Regions from separate parts of the Homo sapiens genome. Here regions 1 and 2 are each linked to region 3. The links are contacts of gene promoters, found by promoter capture Hi-C in human tissues and cell types (Jung and others, 2019). All regions are on one chromosome and are shown on one strand. The core of a region is centred on a gene start or on the middle of the fragment in contact, and the rest is flanking DNA. Distances in the headings are between cores, read along the strand shown. Region 1 overlaps LOC101929457 (a long non-coding RNA gene). Region 2 overlaps ETFA (electron transfer flavoprotein subunit alpha). Region 3 holds the start of RCN2 (reticulocalbin 2).

What was found. The method cuts DNA at HindIII sites, captures the fragments that hold promoters and counts their contacts. A contact is called where the count stands out against the background at its distance.
Region 1: a contact is called between a fragment that was not itself captured here and the fragment with the promoter of RCN2 in region 3, in 1 of the 25 tissues and cell types used here (heart left ventricle).
Region 2: a contact is called between a fragment that was not itself captured here and the fragment with the promoter of RCN2 in region 3, in 1 of the 25 tissues and cell types used here (lymphoblastoid cells).

Annotation. Positions count from the first base shown.
Region 1 is chr15:77,527,942-77,530,718 of GRCh38, reverse strand. The region is part of intron 1 of LOC101929457 (a long non-coding RNA gene); the gene reads right to left. Among named protein-coding and RNA genes, the nearest start is that of LINGO1, 100 kb to the left of the region's middle. RefSeq lists enhancers at 1-360, 361-1,202, 1,203-2,046. The HindIII fragment of the contact is 4,673 bases long and covers 1-2,777 here.
Region 2 is chr15:76,244,814-76,247,584 of GRCh38, reverse strand. All of the region lies in intron 9 of ETFA (electron transfer flavoprotein subunit alpha), which reads left to right. Among named protein-coding and RNA genes, the nearest start is that of ETFA, 65 kb to the left of the region's middle. The HindIII fragment of the contact is 3,436 bases long and covers 1-2,771 here.
Region 3 is chr15:76,930,325-76,933,024 of GRCh38, reverse strand. RCN2 (reticulocalbin 2) reads right to left here and starts at 1,276. Exons shown (of 7, transcript NM_002902.3): 1 at 1,040-1,276; 2 at 559-664. The coding sequence starts at 1,183. RefSeq lists a silencer at 834-1,583. The HindIII fragment of the contact is 23,440 bases long and covers 1-2,700 here.

The sequences.
Region 1 (2,777 bases), core at 55-2,554, 600 kb before region 3:
GCACATTCCACCCTCCTTGCCTTGGGAGGCCAAGGGGGGTGGATCACGCGGTCAGGAGTTTGAGACCAGCCTGTCCAACATGGTGAAACCCCATCTCTACTAAAAATACAAACATTAGCCAGGCGTGGTGGCATGCGCCTGTAATCTCAGCTACTAGGGAGGCTGAGGCAGGAGAATTGCTTGAACCCGGGTGGCAGAGGTTGCAGTGAGCCGAGATCGCACCACTGCACTCCAGCCTGGGCGACAGAGTGAGACTCCATCTCAGAAAAAAAAAGAAAAAAAAAGGATGAACATCAAGCAGAGACTTGAAGGAGCTGGGGAAATGAGCCAGCCATGTGGACCCAATGGGAGGAGTCTGTCAGCAGAGGAGCCGCCTGTGCGAAGGGCCTGAGGTAGCAGTGGGCCTGGGGTGCTTGTGGACAGCAGGGAGCCTGGTGTGGCTGGAGCAGAGGAATGGGAGAAGAGTGGGAGGCGATGATGGGGGAAAGGTGGAGAGAGAGGAACAGATCATGCCTTGGCATTAAAATTGCCCATGGGCAGATGGGCCTTCCTGGGCAAATCTGAAGGTCTCACAAATGATGGAGTCACATGGGGCTCATCACAACCAGAAGCAGAGTGGGAGTGGGGGCATCCAGCCCTCTCACCTCCCCTGGGAGGAGTCTTCTTCCTCCACCTCTCCTACCCTCACCCTGTGCCACCCCATGCTGCCCCTACCCCACCTCATGCTTGTGGTGTGTCCCCAGGGAGACTGGGCCAGGCTGGGTGAAGGAGGAAGGTCCATAGCCTTCCCCAGCCTAGGAGTCTGCTAGCTGCTAGTCTGAGTGAGCTTTGAACCTGCCAGGCCCTGCAGGGGCACTAGAAACCATTAGCAGGCAAACAAAAGGCCTGGGGAGGCCTATGAAGCCACCATGGAAGCCTACAGCTAGGTTTATTTCGAATTGAATAAAGAGCCCTGAAGCCCAGCCATAACCACCCGCTACTCTCCACACCCCTCCCAGACTCCTGACCTGAGGAAAGGCAGGCCCAAGGGCTTGTCCATGGCCACACAGCAACCGAGGCCAAAGCCCCGGTCATCTCCAGAGGGGAGAAGCTTTCTGTGCCCATGAGTGCAGGGCAAGCCACGGCCCAGAGAAGGCCACCACAGGTGAGGCCCACACCGGGCACGATGTGCAGAGTGGGTAGGTGGACACTGAGAACCCTTCGGGTGAGGCCCGAGCCAGTGAGTTCAGGGGCTGAGGGTCTCCTCATCTGTTTACTCGCTGTGTGACCCTAGAGAAGTGTCTTAACCTTCCTGAGCCCAACTGCAACATGGGGTTCCTAATAGCCCTACTTTACAGGGCGGCTGTAAAGATGAAGTGAGCTCACCCATCTAAAAGCACTTAGGCTACTGTGTGGCTCAGGATAAGTGTCATCCTCCCACTGCCTTCCCTCAAGTAAGAATGGAGGGGTGGGCAACTGCCAGGCGGTTCCCAGGCCTAGGTCCCCAGGGCAGACCCGCGCCTCTAGCGGAGCTCATCCCTGAACTGAGGCTGCCTTCCCCACCACCGGCCGCAGAGCCTCAGAGGCAGCCAACCAGACGGGCGCTTTTAACAGCTTTTTAATGTGATGGAGCTCGCTGAGCTTGGAGAGTGGAGGCATGTCAGGGGCTTGCCTGCGGAAGCTTTCAAGGTCAGCCAGCAGCAGCCTGACCTTGAAGCCTGTCCCTTCCCAGGAACAGCCCAGGGGCTGCCGAGACCATTCGCCATCAAGGAGGCCCTGGGGGCCCCAGCTCAGGAAAAGTATTAAAAAAAAAAAAAAACAGCGATGAAGAGGCGTTAAATGGATTAAGGAGGCAGGTGGCCAGAGAGGATGAGGGGCAAGGCTGTGCCAGGGACAGCAACAGCAGAGACCTCCTCCTCCAAGAGGCTTCAAATTGGCTTCTCCTCCCTCGTCACACGCCAAACAGTCTCCCAAGTGGAAAGACTGGGAAGATAAGCAACTTCCCCTTCATCTCCTCCTTCTCACAGTCTCCCCAGCAGGACAGCGCTGCTTCCTTCGTCCTGCAGATTCATAAAAATCAGGGTCATCTCCCTGAGAAATGGCTCAATTATCAGCTCCCCTCACAGAGAGCACAGAATAAGATGGGCCTTACAAAGTGGGGCCACCCACCAGGCCACCCGCACCCCAGCACACTGCCTCGGCGCTCCCCAGAGAAGGCAAGAACTCTGCAGGGAGGGCTTGGCACTGTCACCGCCCTCCTCCCCACCTTCTGGGGGCCTCTGCCACAGCCCTAGTGGTGGCAGGCCTGTCTAGGCAAGATGGGACTTCAGCCCCTTCCTAGCTGTTGCTGTGAGCAGGCCGGTGGCCAATGGCCTCAAGTCTAGTGTGTAGGCTGAGCCCCTCACAGCTCACCTGGCACTTCACTCCCATTATCCTCTGTAAGGCGGGGAGTGGTATACGTCTGTTTTAAAGACTAGGAAATTCAGGTCCCTCAGCCAATAGACAGAGGAACTGGAATTCAAATCCAAGTTCTGGTTCCCAGACCTGGGCACTGCAGAGCCCGCATGGGGAGGAGACTTATAGGCCTCTCAGCAGCGGGTCACATTCTCAGGGACTGGGGGGGCTCCCCCAGCAGACAGGCCAAGGAGACCCCAGGGAGAACAAGAGCAGAGGGCAGCCTCTTCCCAGCTTCCCTTCTGCCCAGGGCCGGGGTCGTGGCCAGGGCACAGTGGGGAAGGCCAGGCCCCTTCCAGGATACACACCATGCCCCAGCCCAGAGGGAAGTCATGGGAAACTAA
Region 2 (2,771 bases), core at 45-2,544, 690 kb after region 3:
TTGCCTGAGTTAGATTTGGTGGTGAGAAGTGGGAGAAGGGGCTGTTATCATGGTTGCGGTTCAGTGGTGAGTCAAAATGTATGGAAAGATTCTAGCAAAGGAGCTTACTATTGGATCCTAAGAAGTGATGGACAGTTTTCTCCACTCCTGAGGTCCAGAAATAGATGGCTGTGAACCATTGTCTGCAGTCTTAGATGAAAAAAAATCTAAAAAAATGTATGTCTCCTTGTGTTCCTTTTGCTCGTGGTTATAGAATGTGAGCATAAGATATGGTCCTGTCAGGAAAATAGCTGAGATACAGCTGCTGAGTAGACTGGATGGTCTCTCTTAGATTCATAAGCACCTTAAATGTGCACTCCTACAAATCCTTGATAGTTGTTTTTTTAAATTTGAATAGTGACTCCTGGGTTTAAAAAGTACATATTGTAACAAATACTCAGATAGCGAAAATTCTTCAAGTGAGGAACATTGGATGTATAGATTAATTTGGAAAGAGTCAAAATCTTTGCAACATTTGATCTTCTATCTGTGACCATGATTTTATTTCTCCACTTGTTTAGGCAGTTTCATAATTTTTGTTATAAAAGTATGTAGATATATAGGAATGCAATTGATATTTATATACTGCTCTTACTAATTTATCTGTAGATTTTCTTGGATGTTGTACATACACAGACATATCTTCTGGGAATAATGAATAATGAAATTTTGCTTCATCTTTTTATTTAATTTTCTTTTCTTTTTTTTTTTTGAGACGGAGTCTTGGCTCCGTAGCCCAGGCTGGAGTGCAGTGGCATGATCTCGGCTCACTGCAAGCTCCACCTCCCGGGTTCATGCCATTCTCCTGCCTCAGCCTCCCGAGTAGCTGGGACTACAGGTGCCTGCCACCACGCCCGGCTAATTTTTTTTGTATTTTTAGTAGAGACAGGATTTCACCATGTTAGCCAGAATGGTCTCAATCTCCTGACCTCGTGATCTGCCTGCCTCAGCCTCCCAAAGTGCTGGGATTACAGGTGTGAGCCACCGTGCCCAACCAATTTTCTTTTCTTATTGTGTTAGCTGTGGCATTGTTGAACGGAAGTGGTGAGGATAAACATCCTTGTCCTTCATTTCAAGGAAATTACTCCATTGTTTCACCATAGGTATTATGTTGGCTGTCTGTTTTTAGTGGATACCCTTTATCAGATTTTAAAAAGTTCCCTACAATAGGCAGTGTCATAGAATAGTTAAGAATCCAGACTTTCTAGCCAGGTTGCCAGGATTCAGCCCTTGGTGTTGCCACTTGCTGGCTGTGTGACTTTGGACAAATCACTTAACCCCTCTGTAGCACAGTTTTCTCAACTATACAATGGTGATAATAATAATTCATACTTCATACTGTAGTATTAAAGATTAAATGATTTTAAAGATTAATATGTAAAACAGGCTTAAATGAGTTAATATTTATATAACACTTAAAAACTGTGCCTGGTATATAGTAAGTGCTGTGTATTAGCCATTTTTACAGTACTGTCATAAATCCTTGTTTTCTAAGAGATTTTGTTTTATTTTGTTTTGAAATTATGAACAGGTATTGAATTCTTATTTCTTTACCTGAGGTTTGACACACTTACTGGATTTTGTTAGCACATTAATATTTGTTGAACTTAATAGAGTCTCAGATTTACGCTACAACTAGCATTTAATTTCTATGGCCTTTTAAAGGTTGGCGTATTTGGTGGTAGTTTCCATTTAATACTTATTTCTAGATTGCCTTCTATTAGCTTTTTTGATGGTGCTGACCTTACCTTCCTAACCACCTGAACATATAAGCATATTGCAATTATTAAAGAATCTGTTTTCTAATGCCAGGGAAATGTGTTCTTACGCTTAGTGCAACTTCTTAGTGGGAGTAGATTATTTTGTGTATATTTTGGTATTTTACTAACAGACCAACTGTCCATTCATAATGGTGAGACTAAGTGAATAGAAGTCAGTTTAAAGTTACCAGGTGAATAAGCAGTTTTTGAAAAATGTATCAAGATAATAAATTTTGTTTCTGGGTTCTCTTTTGAAAATTCACTATTGTTGAAAAGTCTGTGTAGGAACAAACTTTATAGACTTACTTGTATACAGCTAGGACTGAATTTATGGGCTGCCTTTCTAACTTGCTAAAAAGCTGAAGATTGACAGCTGCTTTCATAGTGCTTTATCTAGCTTGGCTTTTAACTCCAAGAGAACTGTGTTCACAAATTGATGCTCTGTTCCTTTGGGGTTGGTATAGAAGCATTAAATTGTACTAAAATATTCATATGTGAGTGCATTTAGCTGAAAGCAATTGATGTTTTGTTCCCAAGAGGACAGAGAGAAATGCTGTATGGACCTGTACTCCAGAAAAAACCCTAAGCATGCTTCTTAAAGGTAATTACATGGCCTGGATTATCAAAGCCCATACAGTGAAGTTTAAAACGACAAAGAAGAAGTTGTAGAATTTATAAACTGTGGTTTGTATATATAAATTATTTGGTTGTACAATAGTTAAAAACTTAATTGCCAAAAAACTAGGAGTTTTAATTATATCTTTGGTTTGTCTTCTCAGCTAATTTTTACTAGACTGATTGCTCTAAACATTTATTCCAGAGGTCCAATATCAGTGAAGTTCTTTATCCATTATCATTTTATTATATAAAGTTAAAAATTGTAAGTTTCAGAGAGTGTTGAATTCCTTTTTACATATATATGGTAACTGTTTAAAAGCATGCCACCAATAATGATAAATTGACATGTCTTGT
Region 3 (2,700 bases), core at 27-2,526:
AGCTTTGCCACTTATTTGTAGAAGGCACTTATCCCTGTGCTTCATTTCTTCATCTCTACAAAGTGATGTGGACAAGATGATCCCAAGGCCCCTACCAGCTCTAACATTTTGGTATAATGTTATAATAAACGTAATTCACAGGCAACAGGTCTTTTTCTACTTGCTTAAAAAAAGAAGCAAATTCCTAAAATTTAAATGAAGCATATATCAAAAGAGCGATAAATCATTTACTGCCTTAAAGTTTTGGGGCATATTTCTCTAAAATAAATCATATTGTTGACACTAACAAAAGTCACGTGAGAAAGAGGGTGTCTCAAGGTGTGACTTCCACATAGAGTACAGGGTCAATGATGTTTATATATAACTGGAGAAAGCACCGAGTTTTACTTGGTTCTCAGTGTCTAAAGATTTGTAAGTATAAAGCCTATTCTCCATGTCCTTTTCTCCTTCTCACAGGACTTCCAACTTGGGACACTAGCAATCTATACATTCAGCAGACACCGCTGCTTAACATATTTGTGTTTGTCTCCATTGTTAGTCGTGTAGGGCAGTCCTTACTTTCAGTGAGAAAGCCATCTGAGTCCAAGTCGATTTTCTTTATGATCGCCTGCAGTCTTTTTTGCTGCTCTTCGTGGCCGAGTTTAACATATTCATCCACATCTTCCTTTAGGGGGAAGCGACACACAGGAGGGCCAAGCATTACTATCAGTGGGGCAAAATGGTGGAGAAAAACAGGGCTACTAGAAGACCCCCTTGCCAAAGGGTTTCGGGGTGACCCGCACCTGCACTTCAAGGCCCCTACCCCCTACACACCCTCCATGATCTGAGGGGTAGAAGGGATCCAGCTCTTGGGCCGTGCTATCTCCTCAGGCTTTCCAGGCCCCAGGACCCCCAGAGAGCGAGTGCCGCGCCGCCCGGCCCCCATTGTCAGGCCGCCCCTGCCAGGCCTCGCCCGGCCGCCCCCCTTTGTCCCGGGACAAAGCCCGCGGCAGCCGCGGTGCGAGGCCCGGCCCTCCCAGCACCGGCCTGGCCGCCTCACCTGGACGCCCAGCAGCGCCTCGCGGTCGTAGTCGCTGCGGCGCTCGCCCAGCGGGTAGTGCAGCTCCTCGGCCTTGCCGGCGCCGGCCGCGGCGGCGCACAGCAGCAGCAGCCCCAACGCCGCGGTCCTCGGGCCCAGCCGCATCGCGCCGGCCCGCGGAGGACACCGAGGGACGCGAGGAGGGAGGCTGGCGGGGGCCCGGGCCGGCTGCGATGCTCCGCGGGCGGCTACAGAGAGGCGGTGCGACGTACGTTGAGGGCGGAGGGAACGGGAGGCGGAACCTGCGGTGGCGGCCACAACGCCCATGGACGGGCTGGGGGCCGGTCCACCAATGCGGTGCGGAGGCGCGCCAGGAGGAGGCCTATATGGCCGGCGCGGAGTGGCGGGGCACCAGGCCGCGCCGCTGATTGGGCAGCGCGGCGCTGGGGGCGGGCCGCCGCGATGTCGGGGTCAGCGGCCGCCCAGAGAGCTCCAGGAGCCATGCTGGGACTGCAGAGAGGGTAGACCTCTACGACCCGCGCCTTGTCGTTCCCCCGAAACGCTTCTAAAAGCACGCCCCCACCCCACTCCTGCCCACTCCTGGTCCACTCCATGTGCCCCTCCTACCGTCCATCAATGAGAGAGGCTGGAGGTTTCTGAGACAACAATACAATATCGAAAAAATTATTGCCTGAGGAATCGGCCAACAGTATTCTTTCTCAGTCTTCAATGTATCTATTTTATGAGAGTAGGACGTACAAACTCAGGAAGTGCAGCCAGATGCTTGTATCTGATGCTCAATTTCGTGATTTACAAGTTAATGTGAACTTGCTCAAATTTCTTGACCCCTGAAAACTTGTTTGCTCATCTATAAAATGAGCATAGTAATAAGACTACCTTAAAGAATTGTCGTGAAGATTAAATAATGTAATGGGTTTAGAACAATAGCTGGCACATAAGGTGAAGTGTTCAGTGAAGGTAGGCTTTCATCCATACAAGTAGAAAAACGAAAGATGATTGCACAGAAGGAATAGCTTAGTAAGTACCTAGCAAAACCTTTAGGGACAGAATGCATATACACATGGCTTCTATTCCATGTCTATTCACAGGTTTATGTAATTTCTCCACCTCAACCTGAACACATTAAACTCTAAGAAATTTGTAGGCTGCACCTTGAACCCTTTTCTTTATTGATTGCGCCACTTAGGATCAGGCCTTTCACAGAGAAGAAAAGGCTTTCTGGGTCCTCTTTCATTTCTCTCAGTCTCTATTTGGATTGGGAGCAAGAATTCTGTTCCAAACTGCAAAACTGGGTGGGCACAAGTCGCAGAAATTTCCTGGGTCGGGTTGAAATTTATGGTTTGGTCACAAACCATTGAAAGATTCACAGAGCAAAGTGTAAGTTCAATCTTTCCAATGTTATAAAGATCAACGAAGAACAAAGTTTTAAATTTCAGAATATAAATAAAAGCAAATTTTAGAGTTGATTTCATTAAACTAAAAAGAAAACCCTTTATTGCTGGATTTTAATTTTCACTTCCATTCTCGGTTTTGAGGAAAAAAAGAGAAAAATGTCCCAATTTAATATAAGAAACTCTGCTTTGTACCTGTTGTTCTCCAATAAGTAAAAGGTAAACTTTGACCAGCTTCCGGCGTGACTCCAGTTATAAAAGGTAGGCTAC